Linked DNA regions of Homo sapiens: region 1 is linked to region 2. Evidence: promoter capture Hi-C in 16 types of primary human blood cells and fetal thymus (Javierre and others, 2016). All regions are on one chromosome and are shown on one strand. The core of a region is centred on a gene start or on the middle of the fragment in contact, and the rest is flanking DNA. Distances in the headings are between cores, read along the strand shown.

The links. The method cuts DNA at HindIII sites, captures the fragments that hold promoters and counts their contacts. A CHiCAGO score of 5 or more calls a contact.
Region 1: a fragment that was not itself captured here is called in contact with the fragment with the promoter of GCSIR in region 2 in 5 of 17 cell types (M2 macrophages, M0 macrophages, M1 macrophages and 2 more); the score reaches 7.6 in M2 macrophages.

What each region holds. Positions count from the first base shown.
Region 1 is chr2:230,974,782-230,982,579 of GRCh38, reverse strand. No RefSeq gene overlaps it. Among named protein-coding and RNA genes, the nearest start is that of SPATA3-AS1, 17 kb to the left of the region's middle. RefSeq lists enhancers at 691-830, 5,462-5,511, 6,616-6,735. The HindIII fragment of the contact is 9,305 bases long and covers 1-7,288 here.
Region 2 is chr2:230,882,913-230,890,026 of GRCh38, reverse strand. GCSIR (GPR55 cis regulatory suppressor of immune response RNA) reads right to left here and starts at 3,481. Exons shown (of 4, transcript NR_038238.1): 1 at 3,058-3,481. RefSeq lists an enhancer at 4,049-4,118. The HindIII fragment of the contact is 18,371 bases long and covers 1-7,114 here.

The DNA.
Region 1 (7,798 bases), core at 1,387-3,886, 93 kb before region 2:
TTTTCAAATATTTTTGATCCATGGTTGATTGAAATCTTGGATGTGGAACCAGGGGGTAACTGAGGGCGAATTGCACTGGGCTTTCCCTTGACTAAATTTGGGCAAAATAAAATGATCTCTAACCTTTGTAAAGCTAATCAGACACCTCTAGGGTAGCAAATCCTAAAAGAAAAAGATCAGGCATATGAGTGCGTGTGTGTGTGCACGTGTATCTGTGTTGCCAAGCTGTTCCCTCCCCCACCCCCACCACTTTGCTTTTGGAGGCAAAGGAAAGGCACCCTCCTGGCTAGCAGGCCAGATGAGCCTTGTCACCTGGGGGATAGGATGCGACCCAGATCTGCTCCTGAGCACAAAGATGAGCAAAATCAAAGGAAATTGCATGAGACTGAAGACCTTCTGTGTGGTCCTCCTGGGAGTGGCAGAAGTTTCTGGTGGAGGCGCAAAACAGGCCCCTGCTACACATAACTTCCATAACCACCAATCCACAGGCAATCCACCCACCCACACCACATCCCAGGCCTCTCCTTTCCGTGCCTGACCTGTGCTCCCGTGGCCTGCATGGGTGTGAGTCGCCTCTTTCTCCACTGCAGGCCTCTTCCAGGATGTCCTGGTGAAGAACACCACTGCCTGTCCAATTATACTAGTCAGAACCCTGGGAGTGTCTCTTGACACTCCTTCTCATCGTCCGCCAAACCCAGCCCATCCCCAAAGCCTGTTGATTGTATTTCCTGCTTGTCACACAAATGCCACCAGCTTTGATGGGCACCTTGTTCCTCCCCTTTGTGGTACTTGTCACAGTTGCAATTTGCCTGTGAGCTCCGCAGAAGACAGATGCCACGGCTGCTTATTCCTTGTCGTGTCCCTGGTTCCTAAAACAGTGCCTCGTGCATCACTGGTGTTCAATAAATACTTGCCAAATCATTGAATAAATAAGCAAATGAATGAAGGAATGCAGTTTTGAGTGAGGATGGTGTTGAAAAGGAATAAAGCCTTCCCCAGTAGTGCCTGAGGTCCATGTAAGAATGTCCTAGATGATAAGACAGGAGACACACGGGCGTGGTAGATGGGCTCTCCCCACCCCTCCCCATAAGAGTGCAAAGCTGGGACAAGCCAGAGGCTTCACAGGCCTGGTAACTGGGGGGTAGGGTTTGGTGATTCCTACCCAGGGCTGGGGGCATCGGGAGGCTCTTCCTCTCTACCTGGACTGTGTTTACCAGGTGTGTTTCCCATTCATTATTTTCCAGTGGGTACTGGGTTCAAAGTTTCTATAAGCAGTGGGGGCTTTGAGGTTCGAGGAAAGTGTAGTATAGCTTTCTCTTCCTTTTAGGAAGATTTCTGTTTTTCTTTTTCTTTTTTTTTTTTTTTTTTTGAGACAGAGTCTTGCTCTGTCACCCCAGCTGGAGTGCAGTGGCATGATCGAGGCTCACTCCAACCTCCGCCTCCCAGGTTCAAGTGATTCTTGTGCCTCAGACTCCTGAGTAGCTGGGATTACAGACATGAGCCTCTGCACCCGTCCTAGGAAGATTTCAAAACGAAGATGAGTCTATTGTAATTTAGAGGGCCATTTTAAACTCCCTGTGTTGGTGGCAGATGGTTTGGGTCTGGCAGCTAGCTCTATCCCAACCTTCTCTATCCACCCTGCAACTCCCTCCCCTCCCCCTCACATTTTATTTTGAAATTTTCAAACATTCTGAAAAGTTCAAAGAAGAGTACAATGAACTTACCCTGGATTCTCCAACTGTTAACATTTTGCCACAATTGCTTTGTCTCTGTTGGTCTCTCTCTGTCTTTGTATATTTCCACATACTTTTATTTTGCTGAGCAATTTGAAAGCAAGTTGCTGACATCTTGACACTTCACTTCTAGATATCTCAGCATCTCCTAATAAGGATATTCTCCCACAAAACCACAATACCATGATCACAACCATAATAGCACCCAGTGTACTATCTGTATTCAAATCTCTACAGTTGTCCCCGGAAGAGCTTTTAATGCTGGATTTTTTTTTCCTATCCAGGATCCAATCAAGATCATGTATGATATTTGGTTGTTATGGCTCTTCAGTCTCTTTTCATCTGAAACAGTCTTTCACCTTTTTATTGTTGTTGTTGTTCTTTGTTTATGTGAAATTAGTTTTTGATAAAGAGTCCAGGACAGTTGTCTTGTAGAGTGTCCCATATGTGGGTTAATCTGATTGCTTACACAAGATTAGATGCAGGTTGAATATCTTTGGCCAGAGTTCTGTACTGCATAGGTGCCACTGTAGACTTCTCAGTCAAGTATCACATCTGGAGTAAATAATGTCAATATCACATCTGGAGTAAATAATGTCAGGCATCACAACTGGAGTAAATAATGTCAGTATCACATCTGGAGTAAATAATGTCAGTATCACATCTGGAGTAAATAATGTCAGTATCATATCTGGAGTAAATAATGTCAGTTATCACATCTGGAGTAAATAATGTCAGGCATCACATCTGGAGTAAATAATGTCAGGCATCACATCTGGAGTAAATAATGTCAGGCATCACATCTGGAGTAAATAATGTCAATATCACATCTGGAGTAAATAATGTCAGTTATCACATCTGGAGTAAATAATGTCAGTTATCACATCTGGAGTAAATAATGTCAGTTATCACATCTGGAGTAAATAATGTCAGGTATCACATCTGGAGTAAATAATGTCAGTATCACATCTGGAGTAAATAATGTCAGTATCACATCTGGAGTAAATAATGTCAGTATCACATCTGGAGTAAATAATGTCAGGCATCACATCTGGAGTAAATAATGTCAGGTATCACATCTGGAGTAAATAATGTCAGTATCACATCTGGAGTAAATAATGTCAATATCACATCTGGAGTAAATAATGTCAGGTATCACATCTGCAGTAAATAATGTCAGTATCACACCTGGAGTAAATAATGTCAGGCATTACATCTGGAATAAATAATGTCAGTATCACATCTGCAGTAAATAATGTCAGTTATCACATCTGGAGTAAATAATGTCAGGCATCACATCTGGAGTAAATAATGTCAGTATCACATCTGGAGTAAATAATGTCAGGTATCACATCTGCAGTAAAAAACATCAGTATCACATCTGGAGTAAATAACATCAGGTATCACATCGGGAGTAAATAATGTCAGTATCGCAACTGGAGTAAATAATGTCAGGCATCACATCTGGAGTTAATAATGTCAGGCATCACATCTGGAGTAAATAATGTCAGTATCACTTCTGCAGTAAGTAATGTCAGGTATCACATCTGGAGTAAATAATGTCAGGTATCACATCTGGAGTACATAATGTCAGTATCACATCTGGAGTAAATAATGTCAGGTATCACATCTGGAGTAAATAATGTCAGGCATCACATCTGGAGTACATAATGTCAGCCACTCTTGGTCATTCTGAGTTTGATCACTAATCCTCACTCTGCTTCCCCTTTTGTAAGTAATTTTTAGAATCTTCACATGGTCACAGGATTAACTGAATATCCAAGTCACCAAACAGTTTTGGCAACTCTTGGTGATGCTTACCTGAAGGAAGCATTACATTGGAGGTTGGAAAATGGTAGTTTTTCATTCTTTTATTCCTGCTACATTTACTAGCTGGCCTTTTTTTCTGTAAGAATTTCCAAATCCCACTATATTAAAAACATTAATCACTGTGGGTTCGTGGAGTTTTAAAAATGCTATAATTGAAACTACAGTTATTCATTTTGATGTTCAAATCATCCCACATTTGAGCAGTGGGAGCCCTCAGGTCAGCTCCTGAATCCTTTTGACATGATCACATTTATCTTCCAAAACTGTTTTGCTTTCTGGTGTGACAAGAGATTCCATGCTCACGTTGTACATTTTCACCCCTGACCTAGAATCTACCATTTCTCTAACGAGCCCTGGTGCCTTTAGTGGTGAATGGTATAGAGAAAGAAAGAACCTGGTGATATATGCGATCATTGCTACTCGGCTGTCATTCAGTGGACAGGATTAGAAAACTCATTTTAAAAAAAATTACAAGTTCAAACTGATATATTTCCTACTCAAATTTAACATTACAGTTTTTCTTTCACTTCTTTACTGACTACTAGTATCTTTTTTCCCCGTCAGTAAAATATATATTTGCTTATTTGCTTTCCACTATACATGCACAAAAGAGTTTCAGAATTACAAGACCAATATTACTGCTAACAGTAAACATACTAAATAGAAGTTTTTCTATAGTTCTTCTGTTCTTAGAACAGATCCTTCTCCACAATCAGAGTGTTTGCTCTGTGTGGTTGTGGTATCAGTTTGAGGCGTTATCAGTTTGATTTCCTTCTTTTGCATTCTATTGTAGGGTATTCTTTATCCCACCTTTTTAACATTTAATTTTATTTTTAAAATACGTGAAACATTTATGTAGTTAAAAAGTAAAAATGGGTTGAGAATAGTGGCTCACACCTGTAATCCCAGCACTTTGGGAGGCCGAGGTGGGAGAATTGCTTGAGCCCAGGAGTTTGAGACCAGCCTGGGCAACGTAGGAAGACCTCATTTCTACAAAAATAAATAAATAAATAAATAAATGAATAAATAAATAAATAAATAGCTGGGTACGGTGGCGTGTGCCACTGGGAGGCTGAAGCAGGAGGATTGCTTGAGCCCAGGAGGCTGAGGCTCCAGTGAGCCACTGCACTCCAACCTTGGTGAGAGAGCGAGACCCCGTCTCTGAAAAAATAAAAAAATAAAAAGTGACAATGATATGAGATATACAAGAGAAGCCTCACTGCCGTTCCTATCCCTTCTACCCCATTCCTTCCCACCTCCACGGTGAATGCCTTCCATTAGTGTCTGTTTAATACTGTATTTCTTTTCACAAAAATAACACATACACGTATTCATTTTCTCTTCTTTCCATATGAAAGATGGTATAATATATATCCTCCTTTGCATCTTACCCCGAACCTCATTATCCGTTCACACAGACCTCTCATGCTCACATTCATTCCTTCCCATTTCAGAACATTCTGCTGTCACATGGAACCTGTTCAGGGTTGGTTTTTGTCTAATCTATATTAATGCTAGTTATTTCAGAAGACCATGCAATACCCGTGAAAACTTCCCCTTCGCTCTCAGAAAGTTTGCACAAAAATCAACTCACAAAAGGCAGGTTAATTAGATAAAACACTATGAATTTATTTTAACGTGTCAAGCATGGGGAACTGTAGCAGAGTGATTATTCGATAACCCAGCGGGGTACATATGCTTATATACCCTTCTTCTTAGGGGAAAGGGAGATGGGGCAGTGTGGATGATTTTAGTTTAAGTGATTTTTAGAGAAATTCAATGGGCTTGAAGAACATACAATGGCCTGGGACAAAGTCTGTTGTGCCTGCAGAGTATACAACGGTTTGTGACAAAAGTCTGCCTAGCTGTGTTGATAGATGTCAGTCTTTCTTCCTGGATATGAGTTCAGTTCATGAAAATTTAGGAAGGGACCAGGAGTAATTGTTTTCTTCTTTAGTGAGTCTGGGCTTTAGGCAGATAAGGGAACTTCAGAGAACAACCTCATTCTGTGCTTTGAGAGAGACAGACTGAGACAGAGGCGGGGGTTGGGGGAGGTCAGAGAAATCTTGTGGCTTCTTCTTCAGTTCAGCATGTCACAGAGCCATATTTGGGGGTATTGGTTTCTGAGCCCCAGTCTCCATGATACCGGCTCCTTTTGAACTGGCATGACCTCTGGATTCTGAGAGTGTGAGAAGGCAATAGGGCGAAGGTCCAAATAAGGGTGAAGGACACAATGCAGGCTGTCCCCTCCTGTCTGGCCTCTAGTGTTCTTGTGTCTCTTGGGACGTGCGTGGCTTGAGAGATGGGTTTGCGGAGAGGGGCTTTGCCACTGGAGGATTATGAAGTGTTGCCAGGAGAGAAGTGGTTTCTGTGCCAAACACTTGCCTCACTCAAAGTGTAAACTTTTCAAAAATTAAGGCACAATTTATATAGCATAAAATTTGCCACTTTAACCATTTATTTTTCTTTCTTTCTTTCTTTCTTTCTTTTTTTTTTGAGACAGAGTCTTGCTCTGTCAGGCTGGAGTGCAGTGGCGCAATCTCGGCTCACTGTAACCTTGGCCTCCCGAGTTCAAGCGATTCTCCTGCCTCAACCTCCCGAGTAGCTTGGATTACAGGCATGCATCACCATGCCCAGGTAATTTTTGTATTGTTGGTAGAAGTGGGGTTTCGCCGTTTTGGCCAGGCTGGTCTTGAACTCCTGACCTCAGACGACCCACCTGCCTCGGCCTCCCAGAGTGCTGGGATTTCAGGCAGAGCCACCGCACCCGGCCCACTTTAACCATTTTAAAGTGTACATCCAGTGGCTTCAGTACGTTCACCGTCTCATTCAACCATAACATTTTTATCACCCCCAAAGGAAACCTCATACACATTAAAAAACCACGCCCCATTTCCCCCTCCCCCAGGCCCTGGCAACCACCAACCTACTTTCCGTCTCGAATGGATTTGCCTATCCTGGATATTTCATACATATGAAATCATACAATATGTGTCCTTTTGTGTCTGGCTTCTTTCACTTAGGTTCATCCAAGCTGCAGCATGCGTTGGTAGTGCCTTCTTTTTATGATGAAATATTCCGTTTTATGAATGTACTACAGTCTAGTTTATCCATTTACAGCTTATGGACAGCTGGGCTGTTTTTACATTTTGGTCACTGTTTTAACCTGTGTTTCTATTCTTCTGGGTACATACTAGAAATGGGACTTCTGGGTCATATGGAAACTCCATGTTTAAATTTTTTTTTTTTTTTGAGATAAAGTCTCACTCTGTCACCCAGGCTGGAGTGCAGTGGCATGACCTCAGCTCGCTGCAACCTCTGCCTCCCGGGTTCAAGCGATTCTTCTGCCTCAGCCTCCCGAGTAGCTGGGACTACAGGCATGTGCCACTACGCCAGGCTAATTTTTGTATTTTTAGTAGAGTCGGGGTTTCATAATGTTGGCCAGGCTGGTCTCGAACTCCTGACCTCGTGGTCTGCCCGCCTTGGCCTCCCAAAGTGCTGGGATTACAGGCGTGAGCCACTGCACCTGGCCCCATGTTTAAATTTTTGATGAACCAACAAATTGATTTCCACATCAGCTGCACCGTTTTACATTTTTCACAAGCAAAGTAGGAGGGTTCCGGTTTTCCCACATCCTTGCCAATGGTTATTTTCCATTTAAAAAATTATAGTCATCCTCGTGGGTGTGAGGCGGTCAACTGTTAATACCCTTTTTGACACAAGCTTCGGGTGTCAAAAGATATGCTCTAATGCTGCCCTTTGGCTTCACGAGGCTACTTAAAGCTTCCAATTTCCTGTAAATCATATTAGACTTTGTTATTGTTACATTAACTTGGTGATCCAAGGGACTCATGGCTGTAGGGGGGCAATCCTGTTATATTCTAAGTGCTGTGGTTTGAATGTGTCCCCCAAAGTTCATGTGTTGGAAACTTAATTGCCAGTGCAACAATGTTGAGAAGTGGCACGTTTAAGTGGTGATTAGGTCATGGGAACACAGCTCTCATGAGTGGATTCAGGCCATTATTGGGGTACTGGATTAGCTGTCACAGGAGTGACTTAGATATAAAATCAGGGAATTCTGCCCCTCTTTCCTTCCTCTCGCGTGTGTTCTCTCTCACGACGTGATGCCTTCCGCCATGGGATGGCCCTCACTAGATACCAGCACCACGCTCTTGGACTTCCCAGCTCCAGAACCATGAGCCAAATAAACGTCTGTGCCTTGTAAATTACCCAGT
Region 2 (7,114 bases), core at 2,232-4,731:
ATGGAGGAGAAACCCGCCAAGCTCCCCACGCGCCTTGTAGGCTTCCCATGTGGGCAGGTCTGGGATGGGGCAAGGGAGTGGTTTTAACTTCAAATGCCATCTGGAGTTTCAACTGTTTTGATAGTTAGATGTTGTAATTACTGAAATTGGATTTGTGTGAATAAAAGTTACCCAAGGGATTTTTATTATCTTGGATGGACCAGAAAAACCAAGAAACCTACCTTCAATTTCATCCAAGGTCAGAGGAGAACCCAACCCACCGACCAGGCTTGAAAAGGTAGTGGGAGAAAGAATTGTTTTCGGATTACACCCCACAAGGCTCCCGTGTTCAATAAAACTGTGACACAAACACTGGGAACAATTCTGGTGAATTTAGGAAGAAAGGAATTGATTGACGGGACACTGGGTGGCTCAGAGTCACTGGGTGGGCTGGAGAAACCACTTCAGCAATTGGGAGACCACAAAGGGAACCGCGGGCTCCAGAATGTGGAGATGATGCCACCACCTTCCTGATGCCCACGAGACTCTGTGTTGCTGTTGTCCCCTCTACCAGGATGCATTTTTCACTGTCCCCCTTCCTGAGTCACTTGTCCCTATGGCATGGTCTGGGTGTGATATGGTATGGCTCTTTGTCCCCACCCAAATCTCATCTCACATTGTAATCCCCGCATCAAGGGAGGAGCCTGGTGGGAGGTGATTGGATCGGGGGGCAGTTTCTCCCATGAGTCGTCACTCATGAGTTCTGGTTGTTTGATAAGTGTCTGGCACTTCCCCGCCGTGCTCTCTCTCTCTCTCCTGCCACATGTGAGACTAACACGTGCCTTGCTTCCCCTTCGCCTTCGGCCGCGATGGTAAGTTTCCAGAGGCCTCCCCAGCCACGTGGAACCGTGAGTCAATTAAACCTCTTTCCTTTCTAAATTACCCAGTCTCAGGTAGAATCTTCATTGCAGTGTGAACATGGACTAATACAGAGAGGAAACATCTGATTGGCTGAGCCTGGTCACATGCTTGACTCCAGCCCCAAGGGGCACTGGGAAAAACAGATTCAGCTTAACAACAGGGATATGTCCTGAGAAATGCATTGTCAGGCAGTTTCATTGTGTGAACATCGTAGGGTGCACTTACACAAACCCGCATGGCATAGCCTACTGCACACCTGGGCTATACATGTTAGCCTACATGGCATAGCCTACTGCACACCTGGGCTATACGGGTTATCCTGTTGCTCCTAGGCCACAAGCCTGTGCAGCATGTTTCTGTACTGAATACTGTAGGCAATCGCAACACAATGGTGTATCTAAACATAGAAAAATATCGTTCAAAATATGGTAGGAAAAATAAAAATATGGTACACCTGTGTAAGGCGCTTACCATGAATGGAGCTTGCAGGACTGGAGGTTGCTCTGGGTGAGTCAGTGAGTGGTTGGTGAGTGAATGGGAAGGCCTGGGACATTACCGACCACTGCTGTAGACTTTGTAAACGCTGTACATTTAGGCTACACCACATTTACGGAAGATTTTTTCTTTCCTCAATAGTAATGTAACCTTAGCTTACTGTACCTTTTTTTTCCTTTATAAACTTTTCAATTTTTAAAAACCTTTGGACTTTTCTATAATAATACTTAGCATAAAACACCAACACATAGAGCTTCACAAAGTATTTTCTTTGTACCCTTAGTCTTTTGTTCTTTTTTTTTTTTTTTGAGGCAGAGTCTCCCTCTTGTCACCCAAGCTGGAGTGCAATGGTGTGTCTCGGCTCACTGCAACATCCGCCTCCTGGGTTCAAGCTATTCTCCTCCCTCAGCCCCCCAAGTAGCTGGGATTACAGGTGCGCACCACCACGCCCAGCTAATTTTTGTGTTTTTAGTAGAGACGGGGCTTCACCATGTCGGCCAGGCTGATCTCGAATTTCTGACCTCAGGTGATCCGCCTGCCTCGGCCTCCCAAAGTGCTGGGATTACACCACGCCCAGTCCCCCTTTTTTTCTATTAAAAATTTTTTTTTTAACTTTTAAACTTTTTAGTTAAAAACTAGACACTAACACACACATGAGCCTAGGCCTACATAGGGTCAGGACCATCAGTATCACCATCTCCACCTCCACATCCTGTCCCACTGGAAGGACTTCAGAGGCAATGCATGCATGGAGCTGTCACCTCCTATGATGACAATGCCTTCTTCTGGAAACCTCCTGAAGGATCTGCTGAGTCTGTTTACAGTTAACTTTTTTTTTAATAACTAAAAAGAGTACACTCTTATTAGCAATTAAAAACACAGTGTAGTAAATACGTAAACCAGCAACATAGTTGTTTATTATTATTAAGTATTAAGTACTACACATAATTGTATGGGCTATACTTTTATATGACTGGCAGTGCGGTAGGTTTGTTTACAGCAGCATCAACACAAACACATGAGTGATGTGTTGCACTCTGACCTTACAATGGCTGTGACGTCACTAGGCAATAGGAATTTTTCAGCTCCATTGTAATTTTACGGGACCACTGTGGTATGTGCAGTCATTGTTGCCTGAAACGTCGTTATGTGGTGCATGGCTGCATAATAGTAGGTGGCTGGTGTCTCCCATCAAAACTGTTTTGGAGGGGCAAATCCTGAATACAGGAACGTGATTCAGATGATTGGCCCCTGGTGGGGAAGGGAGGGCAAAAATTAATATCTTTGAAAAGGGCAAACTGAAGTGATGACCGAGTTTACCTAGAAAATATCAAGATTACACATTCTGCCACTAGACTAAGGGAAGGTTTGAAAACTAGATTATTACACAAAACACACTATTATAGAAAAATAAAGATACCAATAAAGATACTTTGGACACCTGAGTTTGTGGCTATGAAATTCATACTCACCCCAGAGATAACGCGAGACACGAACAAAAGTAATCAATGAAAAACTGCTGGCATACTGACTGCTTGAACACTGTGGGCACTCGCTCAGTGTGGGACAAGCGTGCTGGCTAAAGTCCCTCCCCTTCCCTCCCTCCCCTCCCTGTCCTCCCCACCTCCCCCTGCCTCCCACCCCCACCCCCCACCCCATTACCTCACTGCTGCCAGCCTTCCCTTTCCCATCAGTCCTCCGTTAGGCGCAGAGCCCTGGCTCCTGCGGGGCCAGGCTGGACGTGGCTTCCAGTGACAGGGCCCTTTGTCTCACAGGTGGGAGGCTGGCGTGCGACCTTCATCGGCTCCCACGTCTCTGCCTCCGTGCTCTGGCAGCTGGAGTGGGTGCAGCATGCAGCAAGGATACGGAGATGCCATGGTGGGCCACCGTGACTGCCGACCCTTCTAGGACTGCACCCCCGTCAGTCCTGGCTGCCCCAGGCCCTAGACTCAAAGCCTCTCTTCCAGTCCCCACAGGGAACAGGGCCCCAGGAGGAGAGCAGGCTGCCCCCGTGCCCCGGGCCCTCAGAGGGTGAATTTGGACCTTTCCTGTTGTATTTTGCCCACTCTCTGACATTCCTCTTCCCCACCTTCAAAGCTCAAATGGTTCCCCAGGAAGCCTGCACTAGTCACTCTGATCTCTCCCTCCTCTGAACCCTGTGCTGCCAGGTCACATGCAAAACACGTGTCATTAAAGCTGGAAAAGACCTTCAGAATGACTTGGTCCAAACTCCCCATTTTACAGAAGGGCAAGTTGGAGCCCAGAGATGATGTTAGCCCACCACAGCTGTACAGATGCACCAGGGGACAATGGCAGAGTCCAGATCCCCGGGACCTCGGGACACAGGACTCCCTCCTTACTTCGGGGACACTGCATGTGCTGCCTTGGGTGGTCTGCTGTGCCTCCCCATGAGGGCACGTCCCATGGAAATGGGCTCTTTTTCTTTCCCAGGCAGAGAGCTGGAGGTGCCCAGGGCCCCACACCTGACATGGCCAGGGTGGGCAGGGACCAGTCCATCATCATTCCCTAAGCAGTTATTGGAGCTCTGAGGTCCCTGATAAGTAACACTCCAGCACCAGTGGGTGGTAACTCCTTCAGGCAGAAGGCTGAGCACGGTTTCCATGGAGACCGCCCAGGCTCTGGTTTCCAAGACAACACTTGCACGAGGTTACAGAGCTTCCTATTTATGTCAACTTAACATTTCCAACTGCTCTATTCTTCTGGCCAAACCCGGGCCTAATGCAAGGCCTCCATTCTAGGATGGGTGACAGTCCTCGAGGGCTGGAGGGAAGTGGCTGAGACTCCGTGCAGTTAGGTGAAAGTGAGACATTGCAGCCAGCAGGGCCTCCTCAAGCCCAGGGGCAGGTGTACAGAGACCAATACATGCTCATGCTTATGAATTATAAAAAGGTGTAGAAAGAGACGTAGTCCTACAGCTTCCTGCCATCCCTGCTCTCCAGAGGGAACTGGTGTTACAAGGCTTTGAGTGCGCTTCCAGAAATAGCACATGCACAGCCATAGCGCTATCACTTAAAAAATTCACAAACGGGATAGAGATAAATATATATTCTTGCTCTTGCCACCTGCTTTACCCTAATTATAGATTTCGGAGAACTTTACACATCAGCACAAATAGATCTACCTCATTCTTTGTAATAGCAACAAAATACTGTACTTTTTTAAAATACCAAGTCTCCAACTAAAGGACATTTGTCTTTAGTTTCTTGCTATTATAACAATAAATATGCTTGTACATATACTTTTGCATATCCTATGGAGTACATCCATAGGATACATTCTGGGCCAAAAACATTGCATTTTAAAATTTGATTTTGTCAAACTAATTTACTCCCATTACAGGCCAATGTTACAAAAAACATATATCTAAAATTCCTAAACAAAATGTTAGCAAATGGAATCCAGTAGCATAGATATAAGAAAATACCTCATGACTAAATCAGTTAGCAATATTCGCCACATTAACAGATATGCAAACATATGAATAGATGCAGAAAAAACATTTGATAAAACAATTTAATATCAATCCTTGATTAAAAATAAAAACACTTTGAAAACTAAGAATAGAGAACTTCTTAAATCTCAAAGAGTATTCTTCTAATATTTACAGCTAAACTATATTCAAGGTGAATTTCCTTTTAAATCAAGAACAAAACAAGATTTGTGGCTATCACCATGGTGCCAGAGCTCCTACCCAGTAAGATAGCACAAGAAAAATAAATAAAAGTTTTAATTATTTGAATGGAAGAAACAAAATTTACTCATAATCAGTTACCAGAATTGCTTGTCTACAAAGCACAAGGCTGGGCACTGTAGCTCCCGCTTGTAATCCCAGCACTTTGGGAGGCTGAGGCAGGTGGATCACTTGAGGTCAGGAGTTCGAGACCAGCCTGGCCAACATGGCAAAACCCCGTCTGTACTAAAAAGACAAAAATTAGCCAGGTGTAGTGGCATGGGCCTGTAATTCCAGCTACTCGGGAGGCTGAAGCAGGAGAATCGCTTGAACCCTAGAGGCGGAGGTTGCAGTGAGCCTAGATTGTACCATTGTACTCCAGCCTGGGTGATAGAGTGAGACTCTGTCTCAAAAAAAAAAAAAAAAAAAAAAATTTCCTCAGAGAACTTTGTGGAATAAGAAAGACAGCCCGGCAAGTTTGCTGGATCAATACTCAAAAATAAATTATACTTCTACACATTGGCAACAAAGGTATAATTATTAAACATCATAACAACAAATATAAGGGACATAGGAATCAATGTAATGAAAGATTTGTAAGACCCCTACTGAGGAAAGTATAAAACTATGTTGGAAGACATTAACAATGCAGATTTTAAAAATACCATGTTCATGGGTGAGAGCACTCAATATCCTGATTTCAATTCTCCCCAAGTGGATCTATAGATTTCATATAAGTCCATTAAGAACCTCAACAGAAGGCCAGGCGCGGTGGCTCACACCTGTAATCCCAGCACTTTGGGAGGCTGAGGTGGGCGGATCATGAGGGCATTGAGACCATCCTGGCTAACATGGTGAAACCCCATCCCTACTAAAAATACAAAAAATTAACTGAGCACGGTGGCAGGTGCCTGTAGTCTCAGCTACTTGGGAGGCTGACACAGGAGAATGGCGTGAACCTGGGAGGCGGAGCTTGCAGTGAGCAGAGATCACGCCACTGCACTCCAGCATGAGTGACAGAGCGAGACTCCGTCACAAAAAAAAAAAAAAAAAAAAAGAACCTCAACAGAATTTTCCATGAAACTTGGCAGTTGTTTCTAAAATGCATATGAACAAAAAGGGCCAAGAATAGGCATGGCACTGCTGGAGAGAATCAAGGTAGGAAACTTTTAGTACCAGGTAGCAAGACTTACTTTAAGTGTGGTTATGGTCCAACGGATAGACCTGATGAACAAAACAGAAAGCCCAGAAGTAGACCTTACATATAGAGAAACTTGATCCTTGCAGACATATACTGTAACTCAGTGGGGAAGGAAAAACAAAAACAGAACAAATCGTTATTCCTACCTCACATCAGACCAGGGATTAAATTCCTGGGGATTCAAAAATGTAAAATACAAAACTCTAAAATGAATAGAAGAAATTGTAGAATAATGCCTCTTCAACCTTAGGATGGGAAAGATTTCTGAAATGATATAAAAGGCCCTAACCACAAGGAAAAAGATGAATAAATTTGACTGCATTAAAATCAATAATTTCTGTTCATCAAAGTGACCACAAAGAAAGTGAGAAAGCTATGTACACGTGATGCTGTTTGTAAAAAAAAAAAAAAGGTGAGAAGGCAAGCCATGAACTAACTTGGGTAAGATACTTACCACCCATCAATGAAAATATGTAAAATATAAAATGTATAAATATATAAATAACTCCTACAAATTAGTAAGAAAACAAAGCAACCAATAGAAAAATAGGCCAAAGAAAGCAAGTCGGCATTTTACAGGAAAGGAAATTTGAGGGTTCAATAAACATGTGAAACCGGCCCCACTTTTCTAGTAATCGAGGAGACACAACTAAAACCATAATGAAATACCATTTTATTTCCTATCCATTGGCAAAAAACGTATTGCTAACATGAAGTGTTGACAAGGATGTGGAACGAGTAGAATGTCTATGCGGTGCAGCTGGAAGTGTAAATTGGTTCAATGTCTTACAAAAAACAATCTGCTAGAATTTTATGAGTTGAATATT